Regions from separate parts of the Homo sapiens genome. Here regions 1, 2, 3 and 4 are each linked to region 5. The links are contacts of gene promoters, found by promoter capture Hi-C in human tissues and cell types (Jung and others, 2019). All regions are on one chromosome and are shown on one strand. Each heading gives the region's core, a stretch centred on a gene start or on the middle of the fragment in contact. The rest is flanking DNA. Distances are from core to core; before and after follow the strand shown. Region 1 overlaps TENT2 (terminal nucleotidyltransferase 2). Region 2 holds the start of CMYA5 (cardiomyopathy associated 5). Region 3 overlaps TENT2 (terminal nucleotidyltransferase 2). Region 4 has its middle 9.2 kb from the start of TENT2. Region 5 holds the start of SERINC5 (serine incorporator 5).

Region 1 (2,700 bases), core at 119-2,618, 610 kb before region 5:
CAGTCGTGGTACTTTAAGCAGCTATAGTCTTGTATTGATGGTTTTGCACTATTTACAAAGTAAGTATAATGGGGTTTTACCCAATTTTTAAAAGTAAAAGACAGCTTTATTATGGTGTCTTCTCTGTTGACCCTATTTTCAAATAGTATTGTTTTAAAAGTTCTTTCTAAGGTCCATGAAACACATTTCCTGTTTTGTTGCTTTGGACAAATGTTTCAGAAGTGTTATTCCTTGGAAAATATAGAAGTTTCACTGTTTTTTTTTTTATTTTTTGGAAGTTTTTCTATAGTCACTTTTGTTTTCAAAGAACTTTCACCACTGTATTGTGGACCCATTATCTTGAAGCAGACGAATGTTCAAAAGGCCTATAAAAGTTAGCTCAAGTACTATTCATCATATTTTTAATTTTGAATTTGAGACAGGAATTAAATTATTTTCCTGTTGGTTAAAGAAGCTTTTAATCTCTGAGTTGCCCTCCTTAACTAGATTTTATCTTCATAGGGCTGTTTTATCAGATTGGCTCCCAAATTTTAATTTTGTCTGGTTAGTCATTGTTTATGAGGCCATTCTGGTAAAAGCTATACTTTTGTCGCATGCATAGTGGCAAACAGTAATAAGTGAACACTTGTAATTTGGACCATTCATAAGTGTGAGAATTTTTACGGTACTGAAAATTTCCTAGACGTATAGGACAGACTGACTGGATCTATTTGAAACCCTTACTTTCATATTTCTCAAAAATATCTTACATATGTAGCAATCCAAGAAATAAACATTAAGCTGCTTTATACTTTCTACTTAGCCTGACACCAAGAGTTGTTAAAAGATGGATGCATCTACTGTTTTGTAGTTATTAGACCAGGAGACTGAGATGTTTAATAACTAACCAACTGAACATATGAATATGTGGTGACATGAAGACCGAGTGAAAGACTTGGTATGAATGTAGTAGAAGACCGTTTGCCAGGATGTCTGGGGCTTGATCTGTTCTGGGTTGGTGATACTTCCACAGTTTAGAGTCTTGGTTTCCAAAGATTACAATAATAGGAGAAAACATATTTTAGCATATATAATACTCATTTCTTCATTCTATGAATATGTATAGAATACCTACCAAATAAATGCTAGGTATTCTAGGATCTGAGAATACAGCAGTGAACAACATACAAAAACAATTACCTTCTTCATGAAGCTTACATTTTTGACTTGTAAAATGTCACATTTTCATAGCTGTTACCTACCAAAACGTGAATTATTAAACAACTCACAGATTACTAATAAAATGTGACATTTTTACCACGGTTGTGAATTGAGCTGCTGATAGAGCACTATCAACATGTGATATGCTCAATAATAATTATTACAGTGTAGTCATTAAAAAAAAGTATTGAAAAATATCCTTTTATTGCATTGTTTGGTGCTCCTTGTATTTAGATTCTGAGAGGGATAACAGATAATATTAGCAATTTTGTCAACAGCAGCTTGGGCTTGGAAAGTTGAGATGATTTGATGCCCTTATAGCTGTGTTTCTGTACTGAGGATACTGGGAACTGGGAAAAGAAGAAGGCACCTTTCCTTATGCTATAGATCAAAAATGGTTAGGGTTGGGGATTACAATTTTGTTAACCTAATTCCTGGTAGACTGGGCTTCTTTGGATAGGGATTGGAGGATGATACCCAAATTGAGAATTTCTTTATAGTGAGTCACTTTTACTAGTATAGGAGGATAGATAGAAGTGGTTGGGACAAAAACAAAGATTGTCTTACCAATGCCTTAAAAAAGAGCAGTTCAGAGGTGAGATTGGTTGTCAGGAATTCTCTATTTTGTTTCAGAATTATTATGTTTAAAATAATACTTAAAACGTAGTGATATTAAAAGTTATTTTACATTTTAAAATTCATTTTGAATAAGTTGTGTATACATTTCATAGAAAATCCTGAGAATATACTAAAGTGGACAGAAAAAAAATACATTTCCCATGAATTTTCACACCCAAAAATTGTTATTGTTAATATTTGTTTTATTTTTTCTGGCTTTTGTTTTTTTTGCAAAGGTTTCAAGATGTTTAGCCAAATATAAATACATAAATGTCAAGTTCAGGTCTTTTAATTCCAAAAGTTGGGGACAAATAAATAACTGTAAAGGGTGGATGTTCTTTTTTCCTCTACAAAAACATGGTCTTCTTAAATAATGTTCTTACATTTTCTTTTACCTGTTCATTACATGATTCTCAGACTTTTAGATTTCAAGGAAAGTAATATCCAAAAAAAAAAGAACCAAACTGGAGTTTTTATTTTGCTATGTTAAGTATTAGAACCAAAAAACTGCTACCAATTACTACCATCACTTCATAAAAGATGGTGCATAAAATACCAAAAAAGCAATGATATAATCTCAGAATAATGGACAGACCATCACAAAACAGTCTGATTGTTACACCCTTTCCACTTTTGGCACACACACACACATTTTGATTTTTTTTGTTTATGACAGCTTAGTAACCTTTCCTCTATGGTGGAGAATTTGGGGAGCATTTTTTCATATTTATCTTAATTGAAGTAGTCTTAGAGCTAGCTAGTTCTCAAGAAAATCTTGATTCTACCTTTAGACACATCTTCATCCCATCTTTGTCTGGAGATAGGGTGCCATTATTTGACTAAAGTGTTTATGTTAATGTTCTTAATTTCATAGTGTGTCAA
Region 2 (2,700 bases), core at 154-2,653, 570 kb before region 5:
GCTGGGGAAGGAGATACAAACATAATTTGAATATAGGATTATGTGGGAACCTGGAAGAGAGGTACTGAGTTTAACTTTGGGATTTCAGTGAAAGGTGGTGATCTTGAATGATGGGTATCCTGGTAAAAATGGGACCAACCTTTGAGGCAGAAGGAATTGTGTTAATAAAGACACAGTGGAGTGACTTGACAATGTTGGGAACTCCTGACTTCTAAAGACACCTGACCAGCTGGGCGTGGGGGCTCACACCTGTAATTCCAGAACTTTGGGAGGCTGAGGTGGGCAGATCACCTGAGGTCAGGAGTTCGAGACTAGGCTAGCCAATATGGTGAAACCCCGTCTCTACTAAAAATACAAAAATTAGCTGGGCATGGTGGTGCGCGCCTGTAGTCCCAGCTACTCGGGAGGCTGAGGCAGGAGAATCGCGTGAACCCAGGAGGTGGAAGTTGCACTGGACCGAGATCGCGCCATTGCACTCCAGTCTGGGCGACAAGAGCAAGACTCCATCTCAAAAAAAAAAAAAGAGTAGACAGGTAAAACATGGCCTGTTAGGCAACCGTTACCTTTGTGAGGGTGTTGGGGTTCAGTCTTTGAGCAGTGGGAAGCCATTGAGGGGTTTTAACCACAACTTGATCCGGGGAAAGGTTTGGGGCATTTGGGCCAGTTTCAGACAAAACTTAGCTTTTTGCTAACGTGGGGGAAATTGCTCCTCCTCAAGGTTTAAGATGAGTGGAGATAAAGTTTCCTGGCTCAATAACAGGGACCACTGAGCAAGAAAATACACAGTATATTGACTTGCGATATAAAGAGAGCCGGGACGGAACACTGGTTCAAAACTGGGCTTTTGAGCAGGGCACGCCTAGCTTTGTTTCTCATTGGGTCATTTTACTAGCAATGACAGCCTGAGCTGCTGGAGCTCTTCGGAGTCTCAGTTTCCTCATCTGGGAAACCAGCACTACAGTAAAACCTTCTACAGGTACCACCACAGAATCGAGGTAATGAAAGCGAGACCCTTAGCAGAGTGCCTGGTAGTTAAGTGCCCAGCTCAGGGTATTGTTTGGGATAAAGGGTCCAGAAAGTAGCTCAGCTCAAAACCGAAAAGACTCACTCTGGAGGAAATAAGAGACGGGGCTAGGTTGCCTTTCCTCCTTTGAACCCCCTGGTGCAGCCGGAGCCCGCGCCCCTTAAAGTGATCTCCAGTTGTCCGAAAGGCCCGCCAGGGATCTGGCGAAACGGGGGCGGGGGAGGGCTCAGGGAAGAGGAGAAGCTGAGCCCGGGCCCCAGAAGCTCGGTGGCGAAACTTTGACGCCTTCTATTTAAAGTCGCGGGGCTCGCCCGCCCCCGGCGCCGGGAACCCGAGCCGCCCCCGCAGGGGCAGGGCTGGGGAGGGCAGGGGCCAGAGCAGTCGGAGGGAGAACACCAGGCGCGGCGCGGGCGGCTCCGGCTCCGGCCCCGGCCCAGGCCCGGGAGAGGCGATGGCGAGCCGCGATAGCAACCACGCTGGCGAGAGCTTTCTCGGCTCCGACGGGGACGAGGAGGCGACCCGGGAGCTGGAGACCGAGGAGGAGTCGGAGGGCGAGGAGGACGAGACGGCGGCGGAGTCGGAGGAGGAGCCGGACTCCAGGTAGCGCGAGCCTCTCTCCTCGGCCCAGGGCCTGCAGGGCAGCTAGCAGCACCCTTGCTTGTTTGCTTTAAGTTTTTAAGCTCTGGGGTTCGTTTGCCTCGAGCTAGGCACTTTCTCTCTGGGTGCACTGTCGTTTAAAAGAACTTGAAGGTGAAGGTGCTCGCTGTCAGCTGGAGTGACAGGCCCGCCTGCAGCAGAGTTCATTACCCCCGCCCCCAGCTCCTTGTGACTCGCTGCTCTTGTTTATTCCTGAGGATTTACTTAGGTCCTGCATAACTGCCGAAATGTGCTGGAACACGTACATCTGGCCCGAGGCACAGGAACAATCGCGAAATCCTGCGCTAGAGGAGAAGGGGGTGGGGTGGAGGCGGTGAAGGCGCACTGGTACCTTCCGATGAATGGCGGTCTCCCCGGGGGCCTAGCAGTAGGCTAGGCTGCAATAAGGTGACCTTATTTTGATACAAAGGCCCATAAATTCTTTGGGGGAAAAGAAGCATGAGTTTCAGTAATCCCTGTTCTTCAAGTCCTGGTCCCAAATCCCAAATATCAGTTTCCGTGAATGCGATGAAGTAATACTATGTACAAAAGATGCACCTCCCACCCTTCGATCTCCCACCCTCCGTCCCTTTAAGAAGGCCCTAAAATGAGAATAATAGAAATCATCTAATGTCTATTTGGATTAGCTTCTACCTTCACTTGTTTTCCTTGAGTATGAGTTTTGGGTTTTTTCCTGACTGTGTGTCAGTCAGTGATGTCTCTTCCTCAGTCTGTTCATAACAGTAGAAAGGCTTTGAAGGTGGCAGGTGGGTGTGTACCATCTCAGAACGCCCAGCTTACCTAATCAAAGCCAGCAGAGCCGATGTTGAAGAAGTAGCCCATAGAGGGGCATTGAGGAGGATGGATGGTCAGACAAGAAGTCCTGAATGTATGTCACCTGTTTATCAAACAGCTGCCAAGTGGGAAGCAAGCACAGTCCCTGGCCTCAAGGACCTTGTGGAAAAAGTTTCCCTAACTTTTTCCCCTATGGGGAAACGTTTCCCTAACATGGGGAGTGTGAGACTATATAGAGGTGGAAG
Region 3 (2,754 bases), core at 163-2,662, 590 kb before region 5:
TTCCAAATTGCCAAATAGAGTAAATTTCTTCTCTCTTTTTCAAAGAGGAGCCTAGTTCAGGATTTATAAAGTTTCTTAGTGTGTGTTTTAAATGGCTTTACATTTTTTCCCCTTCTTCTTTTTGACAGGAGTCTTTTAGTCCTGCTATACAGCTGCACCTTGTACATCAAGCTCCATGTAATGTTCCTCCTTACCTCTCAAAGAATGAATCAAACCTTGGGGACCTCTTACTGGGCTTTCTTAAATATTATGCTACAGAATTTGAGTAAGTAAAACTTTAAATTGTGTTTGTTCACTTATATGTGTGTGTGTGTGTATGTATGTATATATATGAATACGAATATATAAGTAAATGCTACAGATTTAGTCAGGAGCTGTGTTTGTCACTTCCAGTGTTGTAAAGTTGTCCAGAAATGTATAGTTTATAAAATTTCCTATGTGACAATGAATTATTGGAAGCTAGATAGATTTTATATTCTTAGCTAATAAATACATTTATAGTTCAGTAGGCCCAGTTTTAGTTGATTTCAATAGTGGTAGGCCCTATGTGTTGGTCCTGTGCAGGTGCTGTGTAGTTTGGAACATCCATTTTCTATACACTTAAAATGTATAGTAAAAAAACACTGCTAAGAAAGACTAATGAAGATCTATTTAATACTTGGCATCTTCGTAAATAGTTGTGTTAGTGTGATATACAAATTGAGGAATGTGTCTTTTCCTTTTTTCTTTTCTTTTTTGAAGATGATATGTAAACATAAAACAAAGAATGTATAATCAGGCTGGACAGAACTGAAAGTTCTTATGTGAGTTCTAAGTCCAGAGAGAGTGGAGTTAGGAGTTACTTGCAGCTCTTCTGATCAATCTGGAAAAGCTTGAGGGGGGAAGAGAGAAGATTGAGGAATTGTACAGTATTAGAGGCAGGTACAGTTACCATTGGATACCACTTTGAAGAAGTTTGCATAGGGTAATAATAATAGTAATAATAATAATAAATTGCTATTACTAGATGGGAAAATGGTTCTAAACATATATTTATTATATTATTATTTATATTTATCATTTCATTCCGTTTACATAATTGTTATCTGGTGTGTGGTATATTATGCCCATTTTACCAGTGAAGCATAGAGAGAGGGGAAGTAACGTGCTCCAAGATCACATAGCTAATAAGAGTAGTATTTCAGGCCGGGCGCGGTAGCTCATGCCTGTAATCCCAACACTTTGGGAGGCCGAGGCAGGTGAGGTCGCGAGTTCGAGACCAGCCAGACCAACACGGAGAAACCCCTTCTCTACTAAAAATACAAAATTAGCTGGGCATGGTGGTGCATGCCTATAATCCCAGCTACTTGGGAGGCTGAGACAGGAGAAACGCTTGAACCTGGGAGGTGGGGGTTGCAGTAAGCTGAGATTGTGCCATTGCACTCCAGCCTGGGCAACAAGAGCGAAACTCTATCTCAAAAAAAAAAAAAGAAAAAAGGATTTCAGATAGCTTTGACACAGAATTCACACTTAACTGTCATACTGGAGAAGTATAAAAAGGTAAGAGCTTTTATTTATTTATTTATTTATTTATTTTTTTGAGACGGAGTCTCACTGTGTTGCCCAGGCTGGAGTGCAGTGGCGTGATCTCGGCTCACTGCAACCTCTGCCTCCCTGGTTCAAGCAATTCTCCTGCCTCAGCCTCCCAAGTTGCTGGGACTACAAGCACCCGTGACCACGCCTGGCTAATTTTTGTATTTTTAGTAGAGATGGGGTTTCATCATATGGGCCAGGCTGGTCTCAAACTCTTGACCTAGTGATCTGCCCGCCTCAGCCTCCCAAAGTGCTGGGATTACAGGTGTGAGCCACCGTGCTCGGCCACGGAGCTTTCATTTATATTAAGATGAAGAAAGATTAAAGACTGGATGAGACATAGTACATAAATAGACTGTGAAGGTTTAATGGTTATTCTAGAGTTCTCTTTAAGATATTGCAATAACAATAGCTAATGTTTAGTGAGAATTTATCTAGTGTGCTGTAGTAAGCTGAGTGATTCCCATGGATTTCAGTTAATCCTCATAATAACCTCTGTCAAGCTTAGGGAATTTGTGTACATGAAACTTGCCCATGGCAATCTACAGCTAGATTGTGGGAGAGTTGGGATTCACTTTCAAGCTGGACTCCAAAACTACATTCTTAATTGTTAGACTGTATTGACATTGTTTATTATGTTATATAAATTAGGGACTGGGGGATGTTTGTGGAGGGGGAAAAGGATTCACAGAACAAAGATAACTTTTTTCCCATGTATAGTGTAGGATTAGAGCATCTGTATACAAATACCTTGAAAATCACCTGCTTTGTTGAACAGAAACAAGATAGTGGATGTGTAGGTTTGTATGTTAATTTAATATTAAAGGAAACTAGTCTGCTGGGTCAGATGATACTGATGCTTGGAAAGAGGTTTCAGAACTTCACCATCTAGTACATTTGTCATTTCATATGAGATATTTTCAGAAATTTGAAATGTGGGGATCACAGCCAAGAATGTAGTCATGGTAATAAACTAGAAGCTGTATAAAAGAATTATGGCAATTGTTAAAAATGTCTATAAGGATTTCTTCTGAACTTTGAGGTAATCATTTAAAAAGTTCTTTTTTCTTTTTCTTTTTTTTTTTTTGAAACAGAACCTTGCTCTGTTGCCCAGGCTGGAGTGCAGTGGTGCGATCTTAGCTCACTGCAACCTCCGCCTCATGGGTTCAAGCAATTCTCCTG
Region 4 (2,700 bases), core at 175-2,674, 650 kb before region 5:
TATGTGTGTATATGTATATGTGTGTATATATATACATATATACACACATATATATATACACACATATTATATATATATACACACACACACATATATATATACGCTTTTTTTTTTTTTTAGACCGAGTCTTGCTCTGTTGCCTAGGCTGGAGTGCAGTGGTGCCATCTCGGCTCACTGCAACCTCTGCCTCCCAGGTTCAAGTGATTCTCCTGCCTCAGCCTCCTGAGTAGCTGGGACTACAGGCGCGTGCCATCACGCCCAGCTAATTTTTTGTATTTTTAGTAGAGATGGGGTTTCACCGTGTTAGCCAGGATGGTCTCGATCTGCTGACGCTGTGATCCGCCCACCTCGGCCTCCCAAAGTTCTGGGATTACGGGCGTGAGCCACTGTACCTGGCCTAATTTTTTGTATTTTTAGTAGAGAGGGGGTTCCTCCATGTTGGTCAGGCTGGTCTTGAACTCCTGACCTCAGGTAATCTGCCCGCCTCAGCCTTCCAAAGTGCTGGGATTACAGGCATGAGCCACTGTGCCCGGCATTTTTTTTTTGAGACGGAGTTTCCCTAGCTTCCCTCTTGTTGCCCAGGCTGGAGTGCAATGGCACGATCTCAGCTCACTGCAACCTCCCGAGGCAGAGGTTGCAGTGAGCTGAGATCGTGCCATTGCACTCCAGCCTGGACAACAATTCAAGCGATTCTCCTGCCTCAGCCTCTTGAGTAGCTGGGATGACAGGCACCCACCACTACGCTCAGCTAATTTTTGTATTTTAGAGATGGGATTTCGCTATGTTGGCCAGACTGGTCTTGAACTCTGATCTCAGGTGATCCACCCCCCTCAGCCTCCCAAAGTGCTGGGATTACAGGCATGGACCACTGAGGCTGGCCATTTTCTTTTAAAAGACTGTTTTCAACTGCTCTGAAGGGAGCCAGTATAACTTGGTAGTTAAGCAGTTAAAAATAACAAGCTTGGAAACAAACAAACCTGTTTGTATCCTAGCTGTAGCTTTAAATTATTGTCAGGCCTTGGGCAGTTTACTTTATAGCTCTTATCTTCAGCTTTGCCATTTGCAAAACAGGGGAAATAATGGAACTCCTTTTGTAAAATTGGTTGTGAGGAATAATGACATGTGTACATAAAGTGCTTTGCATCCCGTTTGGTCGAGCAGTGTTTATGGAGTACCAACCCTGTGGCAGGCATTGTGCCAAGCTCCTGCTTATCTCAGTACTGCTTTCTTTCTTATCTCAAATTTTCACCTAACTTCTACTCTTCAAGGAAAGGTTCCCCTGAACCCTCTGAGTTAGTGCAGTTAGTTCAGGTTCTCCATGAAGTGAATGCCAAGAAGAGACATGGACGTATGAATGTACCAATGCGCACTCATGCACAAAGGAAGTAGAACTCCCAGATCTTGTAAATTCCCTCCAGTTTACTCAGTGGGCATATTCTTCTACCTTCTCTCTTCTGGGCCAAGAGAGCCCTGTAGGCTGGTTAGCATCTCTCTAAACAATCTGCCTCCCCACTCCCATCTCCTTTTGAAAAAGCAACATTTTCAGCAGACATAACAGAAGCATGTTGGGTATACAGGAATAGGGATGTAAATTAACAAATCCAGGATGAAGGAACCTAGAATTAGCTGTAGAATGATTGCAAATCACAGAAGAGCTTGCATGCCAAATACAAAATAAAAAATCACAAAAACCACATCAAAAGTCCCCAAGTCCCTCACTACTACCCTTCTTTGCTGATTCTGCCCCAAGGTTTGGGGTTGAGTGTGGGAGGAGGCTACGCTCTGCTGGGGGAGAAGGCATGGAGCGCCGGAGTCAGGCTATCTCTAAATTCAAAGCTTGTCTTTGGCATTATTTGTGGGACATTGAACAAGTTGCTTGGCTGGAGATTCAGTGTTCTCACCCATAAATTGGAGATAATTATAGTAGCTCTATTAGAGGGCTGTTAATCAGATTATAAAGGGTAATTGATGTAAAATGCTTAGCAAGGTGCCTGGCATATAGTAAGCTCCCAGTAAATCTCTCTACTATCAATTTTTTCAGGGCATCTGCAATACCCTACCTACTTAAGCCATTTTCAAAATGTGATCCACATACATTTTCAGGCATCATGATGTCAAAAACTATATAAAAATACTTAGAATTGGCCAGGCATGATAGCTCATGCCTGTAATCTCAGCACTTTGGGAGGCCGAGGTGGGTGGATCTCCTGAGGTCAGGAGATCGAGACCATCCTGGCCAACATGGTGAAACCCCATCTGTACTAAAAATACAAAAATTAGCTGGGCATGGTGGCTCATGCCTGTAATCCCAGCTACTTGGGAGGCTGAGGCAGGAGAATCGCTTGAACCAGGAAGTCAGAGGTTGCAGTGAGCCAAGATCGAGCCACTGCACTCCAACCTGGTGACAGAGTGAGACTCCGTCTCAAAAAAGAAAAAAATAACACTAAGAGTTTATTTACTGTTTTTCGTGTTAAAATTGGCTTTGATGGTTCAAAAGCAAACTATTGCAGATCACAATGTGATATCACTCTACAACTACCAAGATTGCTATAAGAAAAAAGACAGTTATAAGCATTGATGAGGATGTGGAGAAATTGAAACACTCACAGGCTGCTGATGTTAATGTAAAATAGTGCAGCCACTTTGGCAAACAGTTTGGTAGTTCCTCAAAAAATTAAACATAGTGTTACCCTATGACCT
Region 5 (2,700 bases), core at 81-2,580:
AAAAAAAATCATTTCGTCTCAGTCGTCAAAAGCCTCAATTTCCTCAACTCTGAAAAGGCCAGCTTTAATGTATGCCAAGCACAGTATTAGACCTCAAAAACCAAGACAGCTCCACGTGGCCACTCTAAACAGGACAGATTATCTGCCAGTATAATCGCCGGTTACAGAAACCCACAGTTTAACCACTCCATCACTTACAGCTGGCCTCGATTGTGGAAAGGCTGAGTGTCAGCAAGAACACCCCGAACCAGGATGCTCCCTAGAGTCTGATTCGTTCGTGAAAACACTCCATTAAAACTCTGTACCGAAACGCTGATAATCCACATGTAAAGGGAGAAAAGAGCTCCACATCCAAGAGACTCACCTACTTCGTTTTTTCTAACTCTGCAGGAAGGAGTGAAACCAGCATTACAGGGCTAAGACGTACTAATTCTACACTGATGCAGTAACTGGTAGGAGACATAATGTTTTAAGACATCATAGGTTTAAATAGGCGAGAGTTAAAAAACAGGTTCGAACAAGTTTATTTGCAAAGAGAGGCAGGAAGGTTCCAGCCCTACCCAGGCAGTCGTGCTAGTACCGAGCCAGGGTTGGGTCGGGAAATTCAGGAAGCAGGGCTGAGTTTTCCCTTCGCCCAGACCTGCGCCCGGTAGTTTGGAAGTCAGGCTTCGAGACATTCTCAAAGGTACAGAGCCCACGCTCGACTACGAGATGCCAAGCGCAACCTGCCTGGGTTGTTTGACCCGAGTTTTATTCAGGGCATAGCAAAGGAGACGGTGCCTAAACCCACTTTTCTTCCTGGATTCATCCGACAAGCAGAGTGGAGAGGGCTACGGAGCTCAGCGCTATTCACCAGTGCTCGGCGCAAGAGGCGACACGCCCCTGGAGCAGTCGGGATCCTCCGCCCGAGCCCGGCACGCCCCGCTCCACGCGGAGTCCCGGAGGCCGGACGGGAAGACCCCGGGGTAGCCTCTCGGGCTTCCCCCTGCCCCTTCCCGCCCGCCCAGGGCACAGGATTTCCCGGACGGCTGAGCGCCGCGGGGCCAGCCCGAGCGACCCACCCGGGCCCTACGTTCGGCCGCGGAGCTGGGAGCGCACCCAGGCAGGTCCTCCACGCCTGGACTCCTGGCCCGGTTCTCCGATCTGACAACCCCCGCGCTGCGCCCGGCCTCGCTCACCTGGCCCGCACAGCACTGAGCTGACATCGCGGCGGCCAATGCCGAAGGCGCGCTCGCTGGCTCCCCGCGCCGCACGGGCCCTCCTGGCTGCCTCGCGCCTCGAGCGCTGGGCTCAGCCGCAGCTCACACTTGAACGAAGATCAGCCTCGGCGAAGCGCCTAGGCGCCGAGGCCTGGGTAAAAACAACTGCGGCCAAGCCCCGCCCCGCCGCCGGCCCCGCCTCGCCCGCCCCCAGCCCCGCCCCGTGCCCGCCCCTTCCCGGGCGCCCGGCGGCGGAGCAGGCTCGACCCGGGCTCGCACTTCCGCTGGCGTCAGGCGGGTGGGCTGCTGCGATCACTTCCCGGTTGGGGCGCCGAGCTCCGGAGTCGGCCGCCAGCCTTTGGGCCCCACGCTCCGGGTCTGGTGCGCGGTCTGGCCGCGCTCGGGCCCTCGCCAAATGAGAGCGCAGCGCCTCTCCGCCTTCGGATCCAGAGAAAGAGCTTGTTGCTGCCTCTAAAAGGTTGGAGCCTTAGTAAGCGGTTCCTGCCTTTCCTGCACAGACCAGACCGCCGGGTGCTGGTCTGCGCTCTGCCGCGCGCCGACTGGGACAGCCCACCCACGAGATCCTTGTTCCTGAAATCCCTTTCCTTCCCTCATCTGCCAAGAAAACTTTCAACTTTTGGGCTCTCCGCGCCTCCCAAGCTTCCTCGAATCCCTGGGCCCTTGACTGTTCTGCCCTGATGGCACTTGGTGAGAGATCCATTGAGAGCCCTTTCCGTGCCTTCCTGAATATTGATATGTTTTCCAGCCTCTCCTCCTGCGCTGGCCCAAGGACTCATTTTCCGTCCCTGCTTCCTCACTAAAAAGAGGGTGCCCAATAATTGCTTGTTCCATACAGAAGGCAGGGAGGCCGTCTCTAGGTTTTCTCCCACTCAGATCTGCTGTCCTCACAGCCACCTCCCCAAGAGGAATGAAGGTATTTCTTTTTTTTTTTTCTTTTTTTTCTCTGAGACGGAGCTTCACTCTGTCGCCCAGGCTGGAGTGCAGTGACGCGATCTCGGCTCACTGCAACCTCTGCCTCCCGAGTAGCTGGGATTACAGGCGCCTGCCACCACGCCCGGCTAATTTTTTGTATTTTTAGTAGAGACGGGGTTTCACCATCTTGGCCAGGCTGGTCTCGAACTCCTGACCTCAGGTGATCCGCCCGCCTCGGCCTCCCAAAGTGCTGGGATTACAGGCGTGAGCCACCGCGCCCTGCCGGAATGAAGATATTTCTGTTAGTGCGATTTTTGCGCCAATCCCTTTGCTCTTTCAAATAAGCATTACCGTACCCATTTTAGCGGTGAGGCAACTGAAGCCCAGAGAGGTTAAATAACTTGCCCAAAGCCTCACAGCAAAGTTGAGGAAGTAAAACTGGGCCTGGAATCCACTCGTCTGATCCCCTGGCACATGACGCAAGGCTTGACCTTAGAGGGACTCGTTTCCAGACAGAGCTCTGGCAAAGGAGTGTCTTGGGCAGCTTAGGAGTAGAAGAGGAAAGGTG

The links. Contacts are between HindIII fragments. The study calls those that stand out against the background at their distance.
Region 1: a contact is called between a fragment that was not itself captured here and the fragment with the promoter of SERINC5 in region 5, in 2 of the 25 tissues and cell types used here (adrenal gland and dorsolateral prefrontal cortex).
Region 2: a contact is called between the fragment with the promoter of CMYA5 here and the fragment with the promoter of SERINC5 in region 5, in 1 of the 25 tissues and cell types used here (neural progenitor cells).
Region 3: a fragment that was not itself captured here is called in contact with the fragment with the promoter of SERINC5 in region 5 in 1 of the 25 tissues and cell types used here (aorta).
Region 4: a contact is called between a fragment that was not itself captured here and the fragment with the promoter of SERINC5 in region 5, in 1 of the 25 tissues and cell types used here (dorsolateral prefrontal cortex).

What each region holds. Positions count from the first base shown.
Region 1 is chr5:79,649,132-79,651,831 of GRCh38, forward strand. TENT2 (terminal nucleotidyltransferase 2) reads left to right here. Exons shown (of 15, transcript NM_001114394.3): 10 at 1-59. Among named protein-coding and RNA genes, the nearest start is that of TENT2, 38 kb to the left of the region's middle. The HindIII fragment of the contact is 4,647 bases long and covers 1-2,700 here.
Region 2 is chr5:79,688,433-79,691,132 of GRCh38, forward strand. CMYA5 (cardiomyopathy associated 5) reads left to right here and starts at 1,404. Exons shown (of 13, transcript NM_153610.5): 1 at 1,404-1,624. The coding sequence starts at 1,476. RefSeq lists an enhancer at 914-1,415. The HindIII fragment of the contact is 12,786 bases long and covers 1-2,700 here.
Region 3 is chr5:79,668,764-79,671,517 of GRCh38, forward strand. TENT2 (terminal nucleotidyltransferase 2) reads left to right here. Exons shown (of 15, transcript NM_001114394.3): 12 at 129-265. Among named protein-coding and RNA genes, the nearest start is that of CMYA5, 20 kb to the right of the region's middle. The HindIII fragment of the contact is 3,773 bases long and covers 1-2,754 here.
Region 4 is chr5:79,601,920-79,604,619 of GRCh38, forward strand. No RefSeq gene overlaps it. Among named protein-coding and RNA genes, the nearest start is that of TENT2, 9.2 kb to the right of the region's middle. The HindIII fragment of the contact is 5,080 bases long and covers 1-2,700 here.
Region 5 is chr5:80,254,718-80,257,417 of GRCh38, forward strand. SERINC5 (serine incorporator 5) reads right to left here and starts at 1,331. Exons shown (of 12, transcript NM_001174072.3): 1 at 1,179-1,331. The coding sequence starts at 1,205. RefSeq lists silencers at 814-1,093, 1,204-1,643 and enhancers at 1,497-2,430, 2,431-2,700. The HindIII fragment of the contact is 12,197 bases long and covers 1-2,700 here.